2 separate regions of the Homo sapiens genome follow, and region 1 is linked to region 2. The links are contacts of gene promoters, found by promoter capture Hi-C in human tissues and cell types (Jung and others, 2019). All regions are on one chromosome and are shown on one strand. The core of a region is centred on a gene start or on the middle of the fragment in contact, and the rest is flanking DNA. Distances in the headings are between cores, read along the strand shown.

Region 1 (3,668 bases), core at 442-2,941, 220 kb after region 2:
GCACTTTCAGTAAGTCCTAGGTACTTGATTAAAATACTGATTAGCCGCCAACTCCTCATCCAGACTTAATGCACTAGACATCCTTCCATACTGAAGTTTACACCTTCCTTTTGCCCAATCTTAAAGCATTTTCTTTCTTCCCATGAAAATATCATTGTTTGTGGATAAAATCAGCTCCCTGTGTTGACTTATATCAAACTCATCATGACTATTTATTAATGCCAGGTTCCCACTTGTAATTCTGATCCTCCCCCAAAAATTCACAAAATTACAGTGCTGAAAGTTGTCACAGAGATTTTATGAAGTTCACTATCCTAATTTTATAGTTTAAGAAGAAACTAAAACTTTGCCAGCAGAAGTAACTCGCACATGGCAAAGTAGAACTAAAATCCAATTCTGCACCCTCTGCTGCTTGTTCCACAATAACATACTTACTCCTCTCCCTTCTTTCTCATCTCTTAATTCTCCCTATCCATATAATACCCCTACGGACATTCCCAAATCTACATTTCCCAACAGAAGAAAAGATTGCCTAATAATAAGAGATCCTACTTAAGATATTTTTCTAAAAAAAAGAAAGGGAAACTCTTGCTAAAATCTGACAGACCTGAGTCTAAAAGAGTCTTAAAAAGAAAAGCAGGCTTTAACCTATTAGAATTTTCCATCCTTGACTGCTTTCTCTGTGGGGGATAAGAAAAAGAAATGTGGCCAGAGTTAAATGTTCTCACTATTGAGACAAACTTTGCAAAAACCAGCAATCTAAAAATCAAATTGGAAAACAAAGGGCAAAACGTTAAAATGCCAAATACAGGTAGCATCTGATAAGCCACTCACAAAAAAGAAATCTTAGTCCCACACTCCCATCCCTTCATATAAAAACAACAAAACACTATTTACTACTTCCTATGAGAACTAAGGAATTTTATACTCAGACTGCTTACGTGGAAACCTAGAGCCATTATGTGAAAAGAGTCTTCATGATCAAATGAATTCCAGAGCCCTCTGTACTGCTTTCATTTCTAACAGTCTAAATGTACATCATGACAGGAATCTATCCTTCTAGGTACCTGGCTCATGTTTCTCCTCTTACTGACTTTCCTAGGTTCAGCTCCCAGACTGGATGCCTCCCTGTCCTTAATGTTCCCACCCCCACGCACATCCAGCCGGAAGCCCTATTTTATATCCCATAATGTTATCTTATCAGTAGTTCATAAAATTTTACTCACGAAACTAAACATAGCAAGTAAGACATGCAAGGTACTTATTAAGGCTGACTGCTGATTTACAGACCCTACATCTAAACTAAAGTTGGATACTATTTTCATAAAATCAGTTAAAATAATTTAAAGTTTTACTCAAATCTTAATAAAAGATTAACCATAAACTAACAAACGTTAAGAGTTAACATATGAAAACTGCTATAATCAGGCTATACTTTGAATATACTGGGTTTAAAAAGTGAATCGTATTCTTTTTTAAAATGCATTTACACTGTTTTTTCAGACCCAAACTTTATATTTGGGGGATCTTTATATCCCCCAAACTGTCTTTTAAAAATATATGGATTTCAGCCACAGGTGTGACTGAAAAAATATATATGTATATGGATTAAAAGTTCTGGAAGATACACAAGTTGATGACAAAAATGATATGAAAGTCAAATATTAGGGGGAAAGAAAGATTCAGAAAAGATGAGAAGAAGATAATATATAACCAAATTCTAAGTTGTTGGGTGGGAGGTACTTTGTTAAACTCCCTTTAATAGAATCAACATCAGACATTTGGGCTCAAAAAACACAGTTCATCTTCCAAAACATTCACCTTGTTTGTTTTTGACCAGCTGGAATTTCTTTTCTCTCTCAGCCCAGATCCTATCCATTCTTCACTGAATGCTTGTTGGGAACATAGTCTACAAACCCTCTGCCTACGGACAAGCTCAGCATAAAATGCAGTGATGCCTTTTAGAGAACTATAACATCTGGCCCAGGTCACAGACTAATGAAAATTGTCTAGACCTTGTGATGTAAACAATGCCCACTAATGACAGAAAACCCACCCAAGAGGCAGCCATGAAGAGTTGGTATAAAACCATCCTAACTCTACCCAAACATTAACTTCAGTATGTTTCTATCTACCTACCACTTCCTTAAAATACTCTGAATGCCTGTTATAATGTCTACCCAGATCTAAGCTAGTGGTTTTGCTAATAACTTGATTTTTAAAAGTGAAAACAGTTTACTTATCATAATTTCCTGTATTAAAGGTAAGCCCCTCTGGCACATGGTTGATAAAATACTGTCATACACATGAAATTCATAGGGCATTCCACATATACTCTGTGTGCTTCAGTTTTGCATGACCCCACAATTGGAACTACAGTTGCATCTGATTATCATGAGGCATGGAATCAGCACTGTGGTACAGGATGAACTTTAACACAAAGCACTAGTGTCTTCAATTACTAGCATATCTAATGTCCAAGAAGAACAGTTTGAGCATTTTTAAGAGACAAACAGAAGAACTTTAAAAGCCACTAATCACTACTATTGTCTCTCCTTCTTCTAAAGTTAGAAGGACATAAGAATGAACTTGTGATTATGTTTCTGACCTAGGTTTAAAGCTTATTCTTCAAATAAGGTTAAATCACATTTTCAAAAGGGAAAAAATGAAAGAATAAACCCTTTCTTGTTAGGAAAAACACTCATTGTTGGGGAGGGAAGCACATATTTCAAGTGTGTAATTTTTACACATTTATAAATCTTAAAGAATGCTAAAAAAGATTCAGAGATTTAGAGGTAGACAAAACTGAATGAAACCCTCATTTCTGCAGTTGAGCGCAGGTGCTTCCCATTAAACTACACTATTTGCCCCAGAAAAATAGAAAAGTGATTTCAATCAACTGAATAGATGTAGGAAATTTTTATGTTGCAATTTTTTCTAGTAATAAAACTGTGACAGCATAAATAATATGAATCCACCCCCACATTTTTTAAGCCAGTTTATCTTTTTCATTTAATCCCTATTTCCATCAAACTTTCCCTTATTTCAGTCCCTGTGTGCCTTTACTCAACAGAATTCTTACCAGGACTGTGAGGTCGCCACCTCTCTCCATCCCTCCTTGATCCAGCTAGTCGCCAACCTCCATCTTCATCTTCTCCATTTTGTTCCTCTCTAAAGATGCGCCAATTTTCACTTTCTGAGCGTATAAATTCATGCTTTCTCCCTACTGATGTTGGTCCACCTTCCTCAAAATTTGGTCTCCCTATAAAGAAAATAATATGGTAAGTAAACATGAGCCTCTGCCAGTATAGGCTTTGAAAACAAACTTCACAGCTCAAATCAAGCTTTCCTGCAAATGGGTCCATTTCAATATTCAGAAAAAAATCACTAAAATAACAGTGGGTATATGTATATATTATTAGACACATTTCTTAAAGCCATGTTCAGAGACTGGGCAATTTTTTTAAACAAAAATATTATGTAAAATTTTTTTTGAAAAAGCGTACAATGAAAAGTCCATCTTCCTACACAAGACCCTCAGAGTCGTACTCCCCAGAAGGAACCATCACCAAGTTTCTTATAAAGTCTTTCCAAACACTGTCCATGGGTACACTTACACATGTATACATAGCTCCCTCATCCACACACACAAACGCCACCCTCAGGAT
Region 2 (3,528 bases), core at 296-2,795:
AAGTGTGGATGGGTGGATGGATGGGTGGATGGGTGGATAATGGATGGATGGATGGGTGGATGGATGGGTGGATGGGTGGATGATGGATGGATGGGTGGATGGATGGTGGATGGATGGATGGACGGATGGATGGGTGGATGGGTGGATGGATGGGTGGATGGGTGGATGGATGGGTGAGAGAATAGATGAGAGACTACTTCAATCTGGCTTTCAGGGACAAAACTGAAACCCATGTTTTGTGGCAATCAGATGGCTGTGGGAACTTTCAAAGATGGCCCTCAGGGACCCCCACCCCTGGTATTGTGCCCTGTGTAATCCCCTACCTTTGAGTGTAGGCTGTGCCTGATGACTTCCTTCTAACGAGTAGAATATGCCAGAAGTGATGGAATATCACATCCTTGAGTATATTACAAAAGACTGACCTACCTCTTCCCAGACTCTCTCCATAGCCCTCTCTGATGCAACGAGCTGCCAGGGCGGAGAGGCCCACATGGCAAAGGACTGATAGTGGCCACAGCTGACAGCTGAGAGGGGCTGAGGCCTTCATCCTACAGCCCTAAGAAACTGAATCCTGCCAACACCAGCAGCTTGGAAGTGGATCCCCCCTAGTGGAGCCATGAGATGAGACCTCAGCCCCTCCAACACTTGGATGGCAACTTATGAGAAACCCTGAGCAGAGAACCCAGCCAAGCAGTGCCCAGACTTCTAGCCACAGAAACTGAGATGACAAATGAGTGTTATTTCAAGCCACACACTTTGAGTTAATTTGTTTCCAGAACAGATAGCTAAAACAAACGCTGATTTGAGTTTTATATAAAGATGGATGATGTAGCAATTAAACTTGGCAAATGATGGTAGTGGTTTTGATACTAGTTGGCTTGGGTTTGAATCCTGGATCCCCAACTTACTAGCTGTGGGGCTTTGAGCAAGATGATCAATTTCTTGAGCCTCTGTTTCTGCATCTTTAAAATGGGCATGATTCTCTGGTCATAGTGACAACACAAGGATTACATAGATTATGTAATGTACTTAGCCCAGTGCCTGTCATGTAGTAAGCACTGGATTAAAGGAAGCTATTAGAGGGAATAATAATAATAATAATAATAATAATAATAATAATAATAATGGAGCAAGATGCCTTACAAAGCAGTGAGTGTTCCATGCCTGGAAGTGATTGAGTTAAGGCCAGATGGCCATGGCAGGAAGTGACTAGAACCCTGGAGGACCCCAAAGCCTCTCCCAAATCTCAGATTTGAGGGCCGTGCAGCTGGCTTGGCCAATGCTTGGGGTTGGTGGGCCAGCTGAGCCACGGGCCCCTCTTGGTGTGACCATCAGCATTATCTTGCACTGGGCGGGCGGCGGGTATTCCAGCCATGCCCAGCCTTCCCCTCAGATAGCCCTTCCCTCCTGCACCACTTTTGTGTCAGGTATGTGGCTGCCACCCTGGCTCAACCCATGGGGCCCAGGAAGGTAAACACCCAGCCGGGAAGTGATCGTTATGGGCTCGTGGCCAGCTATGGGCCAAGGCAGGTCTAAAGGTCGGGAATGCTTACCAGTGAAGCTTTTCCAGGACAGGACGAAGTTTTTGGCTGTGGGCTCTCTGGGACAGAGTGGAGCGCCTGTGGATTTAGCCGGGGACACACCATCCTGCTCGCAGGTGCCTGGACAGGACAGGGGACGAGGGAGGAACACTCTCTGAGGAAGCCCAACTCCTATGAGCTCCTCTCTGGCAGGTGAGAGAATGGTTTTGGTATTTTTTAAAAAAATAAAATGAGATAAAACAAGAGAAGGAACAGAGGCTACCGCTAGGACAGGTAGGAAAGGAGATTACCACCCATCCATTCACTGAGGAGGAGCCCCCAAGAGAAACAGCAGCCCTGGATTCCACCCGAGGGATCCTGTCTGGTCTCGGCTTCAGCACTGCCCCTCCTGGCACTCAGTTTCACCATCTGGGAATCAGGATAAGGACTCCTTCCAGGCGCTCTTCCATTATGGCTGTGGGGTAAGTGAGATCAAAAGCAGGAATGGCTGCATAATTGCAGGGCCCTGTGCAATATAAAAATGCAGGGCCCCTTGTTAAAATAGTAAGGCTTTCAAAAGGACAACAACACAGCATTAAAGCAAGCCGGGGCACCTTCTAAGAACAGGGCCCTGTGACTGCCCAGGCCCCACACCCACGACGCCAGTCCTGATAATGAGCGTATATGTAAACGGAAGTGCCCTGATTCCTGTGTGCCATGGCACAAATCTCAGGGTCAGGAAGTGCACTTGGGAAACAGAAGTCATAGTCGTGAAGTGACAGCCCACTGCGCTTTAGCTCCCCCAGCACTGCCCCCTCCGCTCAGGGGCCCCTTTCAGAAAGACAGAAGGCCCTACCCCTCAGAACCTTCCTGATTTTTGCATCTGGCTGGCCTCAAGCCACAGCACGGTGTGACTGAAATGTGTAGGGACACAGTTTTCTTGGATGTGAAAGTGGTAGGTTCTTATTGTCTATCTTGATTTAAAATTTGGGACAGTCACACAGTCTCTGGCTGTGTAGAGGTGGGACTTGTGTTTCCTGGGCTCGTGACAGCTCTGCTATGTTCCATTGACTATCAGTGTATTTCTGCTTTTTGGGAAAATCCTTAATGCAATAAGGCCACTGGTGGGAATGTTCCAGCTTGGACACTTGCCATGTGTCTTTGTCCTCCCTGCCCCTTCTCTCTTTCTCTCTCTCTCTCTCTCTTTTTCCATTTAGGCTTCCCCTTTGCCCATGTCTCAGGCTGCCCCTTGGCACTGCTTAGCTCTGAGGAAGTAGAAGCCAGGGTCCCCTTGGGGGTCAAGCTTTCTGGTCCATGAAGGGAGACCACAGACCACCTCCCTCCACCGCACTCTCCTCCCACATCCCTTTCTGGAGCCCAAATTGTCATGGGAACCCCTCCCAGGGAGGGGATCCCCACAGGAAAGCCAGGGGTTGATCCAATGACAGTGTGAGTAACATTCCACAGCTTTCTGCCCCAGTGGGGCTGGGGACACAGATGAGGCTAGACATGGGGGAAGATGAATTGCTTTAAGAAGAGCTGATGCATGCCTGTAGTCTCAGCCACTCAGGAGGCAGAGGCAGGAGGGCTGCTTGAGCCCAGAAGTCATGCGGTGGGCTATGATCATATCACTGCATTCCAACCTGGGCAACCTGGCAAGACTCTGTCTCTGTTCCTTTTTTTTTTTTTTTTTCATTGCTTTAAGAACTTCCCTTGGCCTGTGGGAGACCGGAAGCTTGTACCAGTAACAAAATAGCCCAGATGTTGTGGGGCCACCCAGAGCCTCTCAGAGGAGACCAAACCTAACCACCCAAGCCTGCTGGCTCTACCAGGGGCGCAGGAGCTGCTGTTTGTCCCAAGAAGCTGGTGAGCCACCAGCACCAAGTCGGACATCCCGTCTCCCAAGATGACGTCCCTTCCCCATCTACATGGGCCCATTGCTTCCCGAGTAAGGAGTCAGCTCTGATGCTCTGAAGTCACCCCCCAGCACAACCCCAATGGCAAAAAT

Evidence for each region. Contacts are between HindIII fragments. The study calls those that stand out against the background at their distance.
Region 1: a contact is called between a fragment that was not itself captured here and the fragment with the promoter of NGEF in region 2, in 4 of the 25 tissues and cell types used here (adrenal gland, lymphoblastoid cells, pancreas and 1 more).

Annotation. Positions count from the first base shown.
Region 1 is chr2:232,786,744-232,790,411 of GRCh38, reverse strand. It overlaps GIGYF2 (GRB10 interacting GYF protein 2), which reads right to left. Exons shown (of 29, transcript NM_001103146.3): 9 at 3,083-3,262. Among named protein-coding and RNA genes, the nearest start is that of KCNJ13, 12 kb to the right of the region's middle. The HindIII fragment of the contact is 4,915 bases long and covers 1-3,668 here.
Region 2 is chr2:233,011,273-233,014,800 of GRCh38, reverse strand. It overlaps NGEF (neuronal guanine nucleotide exchange factor), which reads left to right and starts at 1,545. Exons shown (of 15, transcript NM_019850.3): 1 at 1,545-1,733. LOC101928881 (a long non-coding RNA gene) reads right to left here and starts at 2,187. Exons shown (of 3, transcript NR_136325.1): 1 at 1,832-2,187; 2 at 1,554-1,661. The HindIII fragment of the contact is 2,443 bases long and covers 1-2,192 here.